Linked DNA regions of Homo sapiens: regions 2 and 3 are each linked to region 1. The links are contacts of gene promoters, found by promoter capture Hi-C in blood cells and fetal thymus (Javierre and others, 2016). All regions are on one chromosome and are shown on one strand. Each heading gives the region's core, a stretch centred on a gene start or on the middle of the fragment in contact. The rest is flanking DNA. Distances are from core to core; before and after follow the strand shown. Region 1 holds the start of TMPRSS7 (transmembrane serine protease 7). Region 2 has its middle 6.0 kb from the start of PLCXD2. Region 3 overlaps PLCXD2 (phosphatidylinositol specific phospholipase C X domain containing 2).

Region 1 (2,882 bases), core at 260-2,759:
ATATTGTTTTTCTCTCACAATCAATTATTTCTGGGCTGATGCAGGATTGAAAATAAGAAGATAAGTGAGTTCCCCACAGAAATGAATTGATTTCCTAGTTACAGCTTCATGACTGGGTGGTAGGAAGGAAAAGTAAAGGTGATATGATAATTTGCATAGATTGTACAAATTTGTGCAATTTGTAACTGCACAAATTGTTCGTAAAGCATGTGTGTTTACATACGGTTGTAGGGTTGTGGGTTTATAGGAATTAAATATGTTTGTTTTGCCATTGCCAGCCGCTGCCATTGCCAGCCACAGTTTCTCAATTATAAATGAAATAATTATTTAAAAGTAAATGGAAGAATGAAATAGAACACTCATTAGATTAGAAAATTGTTGGTTTAAGTGTATTGATGTGCATAGTGTTATGTGCAAGAGTAAAAAATACATTATTTAATTGTTTCCCTTCCTCCTCTTTTATTTTCTTGTCTACCCTCTGCTATTTGATGCTGTGAATTCTTTAATAATGTATTCAAGAGTTTAGCTTCATTTAAGGAGAGATTTATACAAGTCAGGGTAACTAAACTCCAGAGACGAAATAGCTTTTAACCACACATTCTTTTAAAGGCAACAATATGGAATGCCAATGCCAAAGAAATAATCTCTCTTTTGCACTGTCCTTAAGAGTTCTCTCCTTCTCTTTTCCTCTCCCTCACTCTTCTCTTCAAAATTCATGCCCTCCAGTCTTTAATCTTGCCAATTAATGGGATAATACGTGGCCACGTACACTCTGAATTATTCATGGCCCCTTCATTCTTTTTGCCAAACACCTTGTCAACCCCTGGAGTGAAGTGTTGCTTGTATCCTTTCTGGTGAAATTGAACTAGACCAGACATCATTTAATGTGGTGTCCTGCAGGAATGAGGACTGGGTTTCTAAAGAGAGAAACATTCCATTGTAGAATGAGTTGTCGATGGTATCAAGCTACTTTCAAGTGCTCCCCCAAAAGAAATAAAGAAACACGCAGAAATGCCAGTACATGTTGAACTGACAAAGCCAAGTTTGGATCTTTTAAGTGCAGAAACACATTATAGGCAGTCTCAGTTAGCACTGATTAAATTTTAAAATGGAATTTGTGTAGAGATCAGTACAATTTCCCTGGAGTTTTAGAAAAACGGCTACAAATCAATTGCCAAGTACAGCACTTTATAATAAGCTCACATTTGTAAAACCCATTAATTACCATAAGAAGATAAAATATTTTATTATTGTTTCCTTTATGTTTATAAGGTCATACAATCTCATTTTACTAACAGGGTCAACAATAAATGGCATTCAAGTAAGAGAAAGTTTCTCACCCTGTACTTACTTTCAGGTCAGCAGGTGCGGCTGAAACATCGCTGTTTTCTTTGTCCATTATTAGGCGTTTTGTGTGTGATCATCCAGGGGTGTCTCAAAGCCAGTTTTTGCCCCTTATATGCTCTCTTGAGAAGAATTGAGAGAACCGTCACCGCATTCAAGCTAGCTTTCAGAGGAGTGGAATCAATTTACCTCCACCGGGTTCAGTTCAGAAACTGAAGCCGCCTCATTGCTATATTGTAAATGTTAAAGGGACCTAGCACTCAGCTTTGCACCCCAAACTCAAGGATTCTCAATGTAACTTTCATAGGAGTCAGGCCTCTCAGAGTACAGCCAGCCTCAAGGCAAGGTTTTCTTATAAGAAACACAATCCTACAATCCAGTAACATTTAAAAATCATTATAATTTTTTTCTTGCATCTCCTAAAGAATATGAAGAGGTCTAATTTACAACCCTCAGCACCACATCTGAGAAGTCCTCACACCTCATTTCTCTTGCGTGGCATCTCTTGCCTGCTCCAGGAGACTCACTCTTCAGTCCTGCTCTCAACTCTCCAGCCATACTCTCTGAGAACTCATAATCCAAAGGGACTTTTTTCCATTTAGCTCCCCCTACTTCTTGCAGTCAGTCCTCAGTAAACCTGGGGCCCTTTCTGCTGTAAAGCCCCTGTTTCCATCTCTCCCATACTTCCCAATGTCAATCTGAATTAGATCCATGGTGGGAAGAATAATCCAATCCTGAGGGGCAGTGTCAGAATTTCTCTTAGCAGACGGGGAGAAAAAGGCAGGGATTGCTGGAACCTCATCACCCTGTGGGCACTGGGTGTCAACAGAAAGCTGATCTGTCACGCTTTAAAGGAGAAACACTGTTCTGCTGATCCAGACACAAACTTCAGCATCATTCACGGGCTGTGCATATGGCAAGTGAGAAACTGCCTGCTGAAAGTGGGGAAAGATTAGTTGAGTTGCTTCATACCTGAAATTTGATCTAACTTGGGGAAGATGAGACAGAATAACAAAAAAAAAAAAAAAAAAAAAAAAAGAATTAAGTCATGTACAAATTCGCCTCTTGGGTTTTGTTATTTATTATTCACATTGATGAAATTATTAATAATGGTTTAGACTTTATAATATTACTTTTAATGGCTCATCTTTCCAGTATTATTTCTCTACCTATTTCTAGAACTAACTCATATTTCACCAATATAAGTAAAATTTGTATACTTATCGGTGGCCATTGACAAAGACTCTCTTCTTGACCAAAGTGTTGTCAGGTTACTCTGAGCTCTCTTTTCAACTAGACCTTGTCCTTGGGCCTTGTCTTTGGCCCATCTGGTCAGTTTAGCAGGAATCCCCCCGCCTTGATATCTGATCACCCTTGATTTTGCTTTCTTTTTCTTTTCTTTCTTTCTTTCTTTCTTTTTTTTTTTTTTTTTTTTTTTGATTCAAGAGTGGCCTTGAAATACCCTTGATATCTGATCAAGTTCTTTATCCCCTACCCTTGATATGTAAGTCCTTGGCTGCCTGTAACAAGAATCCTGA
Region 2 (2,882 bases), core at 145-2,644, 370 kb after region 1:
TGAGTTCCACAGTGATGCGTCACACACAATTTTTTTTTCTGGCTGGGGAGTGGGGTGGGTGGAAAAGGAATAAGGGACTGAAATGAGGAGCCAAGTAAACGAAAGATGGGATGGAGTAGAAGCTGCTTTGCTTTATGGCCTCGTACCAGTAGAGTTTATTCCTAGTCTTTCCCAAGCTTCTTCACCCAGCTCAAGCCAAAAGACTGTATGATAAAGATCAGAGGAGAATGAGGAGATGCAACCAACATAGGTGGTGCTGGGACGTGACGACAGCAGCAGCAATTACCTCCAGGAAGAGTGACATCATTGCAGCAACTGGGGATCTTCAGGAGCCTCCAAGGAAATGGAGACACTGAGGCACACACTTGTGGACACATGATACAACTTACACATTCCTGACATCAGAAGACAGAGGATTGGGATCCACTTATTTTGTTGATTGGGGTAGAGCCGGAGACTATTGTTTTGTCATTTTTACTGTGACCATTCCCGGATTATACCCAGGTGGTGTGTCCTTGAGAAACTGGGTAGAAGAGAAGCAGAAGCTTAAGCAGGAAGTAGCGTTGTCTATATTACCTCATGCCCACTTGGTATTTATGGCCCACAACTGGGATTCTGTAATGAGACAAGAGTGAACGGCAGCAATGGCTGGCCATAAGATTGTTTCTCCCAGATTTGAAAGCTCGGTGTTCAGGAAGACCCTAAGAGCCTCTGTGCCTTTTAAGTTTATTGGACATTAAGTTTTTCTGGTATGCTTTCAGAAAATTTATTTTAACAGTAGTCGTTACTATAATACTTTTGAGAGGGCTACTAACAAGTGATGATTGTAAAATTCATTTTAATATCCATTCATTTCCGTCTACCACACCACATTCCAGCATCCTCTTCCATTTCTCCTTCCCACGCCACCTCCAATCCCTGAAAAGGAAATTGAGAGGAAATAAAGGCCTCAGAGCCTTTATTTTCTAGCTAGTTAGCTAGTTAGCTGCAAAGTCCCTGATTTAAGATGTTATAGAGCCACCTACTGGTATTCAAGGCTCACTTCAGGCACGTATAATATGTTCTGTCAGTGTCAATTATTCCTAAAAATGCCTGTAGATCACCAGCAACAGGAACAACTAGGAGTTTATGCAATATACAGATTTCTGGATCAAATGCCAACCCTCCTGCATCAGATCCTCTGGGATGGCATCTTTTCCTCCTGTCTTTAAAATGTTCTCCTCAGGGGATTTTTATGTCTCAAATGTTTGAGATGAAGGCTTTGAAATGTCAACAAATTTCTCTTTTTTAAAAAAGTTAAAATAGGTAGAATGGCAGAGTAAACAATTCTTATCCATGCTGCATATAACTTTATGCAATTAGGAAGACTATTTTGGCAGAGATAGTTGATCTCAACTAGCAGGAAAATCAATTGATCTGCCACCCTTACCTTTTTTTTCTCCAGGCTACCACCCCACCCCAAGGTTCCTAGAATTATGAGAATTATGTCTATTATTAGGAGACATTGTTGTATTAATGTGTATATTAGTAATCACTTGAGCTTCAGTCACAACAGAATGACCTCTGTGCATTTGTTATCATTTAACCAATCTAATCTTGGGAATGCATTCTTTTAACAACATGACTCTGCAATTTGGTGTGCCACTATCAATTGGAAATAGCATGATGCCACCTCATCCATGGAGTAAAAATTAGTAATATTATCATTACCTAATACTATCATTCTCTTCCAACTTTTTAAATATTAAAATTACAAGTTTGTACAAACAACCTTAACCAACAAAAATATTTTTTAATAAAGTAAATAAATTTCAATGTAAATAAAAGTAATGAATTTTTAGTGTGTCAACAACTCTCTCTGATCAACTCTCTCTGAATGTTAGGTTGTAGTCAAAAGCCCTTACAAATGCTTCTTGGCCTTTTGATGATTTTGTTTCAAAGGATTCTGATTTGCTTAAGTGTCTGTAGTTAACTCCCCAACTCAGCCACGTGTTCGGCTCTGCCCTTCCTAAACTGCAGAAACTGGTCATGGAGGAAGTTGTAGTTTATCTTAGCAACATCTGCACCCACAGCTTCCTCTTCCTTTGAGTAGCAGAAGTAAAAGAGAAAGTAAAATTTATGCCACACATCTTTCTGTTTCAGCCAAGTATAAAGGAGAATATTCTAGAAGTCAGAGTTAAGCAATATAATGAAGTAGAGGAGGAAGTGAGTTCCTATAACTGGAAGCATCCAAGCCAAGCTTGGCACCAATAAGACAGTAACATGATAGAATTGAAGCACCTGATGCTTGATTGAACTACATGAACTTCACGGTCTTTCCAACCGTACTCTGTTTTTTTCCCTCTGCCTGCTGTAGATACCTTTTGTCTTTGCACAGTTAAGCCTTTCTTTCCTTTTTATTGCCTTTCCTCACTCAAATCTTTGACTTCATTTGCTGTAGTCAGGACTAACAGAACTTCTATATAAATATGGACCTAATATTCTAAAATCATGCGGCTACCAGCAAAAGCTTGAGATTGTGTTTTGGGGAGTACCTTTATACTGGTAACACGTTCTAGCCTCTGGGGACACCTCAACATTTTCTCTACCCTCTCCCCGCATTCAGCACCCAGGATGAGATGCGCTTAGCTCAGGCAGTCAGGCTCAGAAAACACATAATGAAGCTCTCAGAGTGGGAAGTATGAATGACCTGGATGGAAGTCACCTTTAGTGCCTCCATCACCTCCACAGTGGTAGGATTGATGTGTGTGCGGCCCGAGGGCAAAGCTTCTCAACTCTTGCGCCAGATGTGCCCTAATCATGGAGCTGAGTAAATGCACACTCCCCAGAGCCCTGTATGGCAGGCATGACAAGCACTGATCCTGGCATTTCTTTCAAGCTGC
Region 3 (2,882 bases), core at 195-2,694, 350 kb after region 1:
GAAAAAACATATTTAAAGTTACCTAGTTTGGCTGGAATTTTTCACAGGGCAGAGTTATTTTAAGATTCATTTGATAAATTGGAGAATGAGATACAGAGAAGCTTCTTAGCTAGTTCCCCTCCAGGATAAGAAGAGGTTTTTTTCTCTTTCCTGTAAATAAAGGCCTAAGCTAGGTGTTCTGACAGAGGAAAGGGAAAAGGGAGGAGAGAAAATCCAGTAAGTAGCAGTTTAAATTACATGAAATGGTGGGCTTAAAGGGAATTTGTACATTACACCCAACGGGGAAAGTGAATGAAAACACACCCCACCCTTGAAGACCAGTGTTCTGAGAGCTTACACACCTGCTAAAGCCTCATGCTGGTCTTTCTGTGTAGAGGCAGAATAGAGGCCAGATAGATTTTTTTCTGTGCCGGAGCCTTGCTGGGTGATTACTACATAGACCACTTAAACCACTGGGCTGCTTTTGTTCTGAGTCAATAAAAAGCCTCCTAGATGTCTGGTCTTGAAAAAAAAAATGTAACTTGTTCAGCCAGAACAGGTCAGCATGTAGTCCTTCAAACATCACCATCCTCATGGGTGCTCATGCATTAGAGTCCCGACATGGGAGCAAATGGCCTCAGATGAAAAGAAAATTACCCTTTATTACAACCAACAAAAGAAACTAAAGTTACAACCCAACACTGGGTCAATCTCCAACTCTATCAATGACTTTTATTCAAATGCAATTAAATGAATTTGGCATGACCTAATTTTTACAATTCTAGTATTGTTATCAGGATTTTGGGGGGCCATCTGCTTAACCTCTCTGTGACTGAATTTCTTCATCTGTAAAATGGGGATAGTAGGAGTATCTACATCATTAATTTATTATAATAATTAATTGGCTTTATATAAATCAAACAGCAATATCGGTCCCCTAGGAAGTGCTATATAAATATTAAATGAGCAAGCTATCTTTCTTCTGCTTCTTTTATTATTATTATACTTGTTCTTACTCTTAAAGCCTTGAGGCATCTTGAGAAGACTGCAATGCAGTTATAAGATTTTGTCTTACCTTAGGCGTTACTACTTGCTTCCTGCCTGTCCTAGTTTCTCCTTAACTAGAAATATAGATTTTTAAATATCTGTTTTTTATGCTTAAATTCTTTGTAGATATATTTCAAGATTCCATCTTTCCCCTCCTTCTTCTTTCCCTCCACTTTTATCATAAGGTGCTTATTCTGAACAAGACAGCAAGTATACAGAAATGACAAAACAGTTGTATACAGCAGAGAGAAACAGTCCCAATGGGGTATATCATGTCCTATAATGGAAATGTGCACAGAGGTCATACCTGAACTGAACTGTAATTGGCGAGGCAAAGCGAAGGTGGGTTATTGGAAGGGAGGGTGTTCAAAGACTGGAATTATAACAGGGATAGAACACTTTCTTTCACAGTTTTCTTCAAGCCCAAAATTGTCACTGGCTCCCTATGGTCTACAACACAAAGCATAAAGTGCTTAGCACAGTGCTGAAAATCTCTCTCCAACTGGCTTGTCTGTCTTTCCGTAACTTTCCCATTTCCTTCTCCTGTCACTTCTACAGGTGACCATGGCAGCCCTTCTCTGTTTCCTGAAGGTGCCCTTGTTTTCTCATCTCTAATTTTGGGCATTTGCTTCCCTGTCTCTGGAATGTCCTTCCCTCTTCATGTTGAAATCCTCCCTGTCTCTCACAGTCCAGCTCACAGGTGCTCTTCTCCTGAAGCAGTTCCTTACCCACCAACTAGAAGTAACCTTTCCCTTTCCAGGTCCCAGCACAGTTTGCTTGTTTCTTTATCATGGTACTCACCTCATTCTGCTTTTATTTACTTTATTTGAACTCTTGTATATCTCTTATAAGATCTACAAACTACATCTTGTTCATTTTTTAAAAATGTCCCACAGTAGCTATTATGATATTAGGTATATATTAAGTAATCAAAAGGATGTTTAATAATAATAGCTATATATATATATAACATATTTATTTCATAATTGGCAATATTCTAATCACATTGTATATCTTATTTAATTCTTTTTTTAAAGTTAATTTACATTTATCTTGTTTAATTCTTTTTTGAAATTTAATTCTTAAGTAACTTTGTTGTGTAGTAAAAAATTTAAACCTTACCCAAAAGGAGGTATGGTCTTCGCCCTCAGTCCTTGGGAGGCAATTGCTTAAGCCCTTGGAATGTCCTGCCTGATCAAAGTATCTTTATTTACCTGACAGCTTTGGGCCATAAGGGAAAGTATAAGGATGTGATTTATGGTGCAGGATTTGAGTCACATGGGCATGGGCTTAACCTCTGAAGGGGCTGGATACTTAGGTCAGCCATGTGGAAGACCAGAAAAGATTCTGGACACCAAAGCTCAGGTGAGCTTCCCTGGTTAGCAGTACTTTGTGTGGTACTGTCACACATCAATACGAGGAAAGAAACACTGTCCATGAGAAGAGGACAACTGGAAGCTCCACATTTGGAAATTTCCTGAACTTTGCTCCATGCACCTCTTCCTTTAGCTGATTTTGATCTGCAGCCTTTCAGAGCAATAAACAGTAACTATGAGTATAACAACTTTCAATGAGTTCTGTCAATCTTCCTAGCAAATTATCAAACAAGGGTGATCTTAAGGCTCCCAAACCTGTAACTGGTATCAGAGTGAGGGTAGTCTTCCAGCTTGTGCTTCCTCTAACTTTGCACTTTTGAAGTGGATATTATAATTATCTCAATTTTACAGATGAAAAAACTAACAGACAGAGGGGTAAAGCTTTTTACTCAAGGTCATGCAACTATTAATAGTAGCGAGGATTTGAGCCTACAACCTACACTCTGAACTACTTTTTCATAGTGCCTCCTGTGTGAATAA

The links. The method cuts DNA at HindIII sites, captures the fragments that hold promoters and counts their contacts. A CHiCAGO score of 5 or more calls a contact.
Region 2: a contact is called between a fragment that was not itself captured here and the fragment with the promoter of TMPRSS7 in region 1, in 5 of 17 cell types (M2 macrophages, erythroblasts, M1 macrophages and 2 more). The highest score is 7.7, in M2 macrophages.
Region 3: a fragment that was not itself captured here is called in contact with the fragment with the promoter of TMPRSS7 in region 1 in 1 of 17 cell types (fetal thymus); the score reaches 5.5 in fetal thymus.

Annotation. Positions count from the first base shown.
Region 1 is chr3:112,033,363-112,036,244 of GRCh38, reverse strand. TMPRSS7 (transmembrane serine protease 7) reads right to left here and starts at 1,509. Exons shown (of 18, transcript NM_001395507.1): 1 at 1,352-1,509. The coding sequence starts at 1,399. The HindIII fragment of the contact is 8,291 bases long and covers 1-2,882 here.
Region 2 is chr3:111,667,248-111,670,129 of GRCh38, reverse strand. No RefSeq gene overlaps it. Among named protein-coding and RNA genes, the nearest start is that of PLCXD2, 6.0 kb to the left of the region's middle. RefSeq lists an enhancer at 2,146-2,195. The HindIII fragment of the contact is 1,694 bases long and covers 548-2,241 here.
Region 3 is chr3:111,688,007-111,690,888 of GRCh38, reverse strand. The region is part of intron 1 of PLCXD2 (phosphatidylinositol specific phospholipase C X domain containing 2); the gene reads right to left. Among named protein-coding and RNA genes, the nearest start is that of PLCXD2-AS1, 12 kb to the right of the region's middle. The HindIII fragment of the contact is 2,682 bases long and covers 104-2,785 here.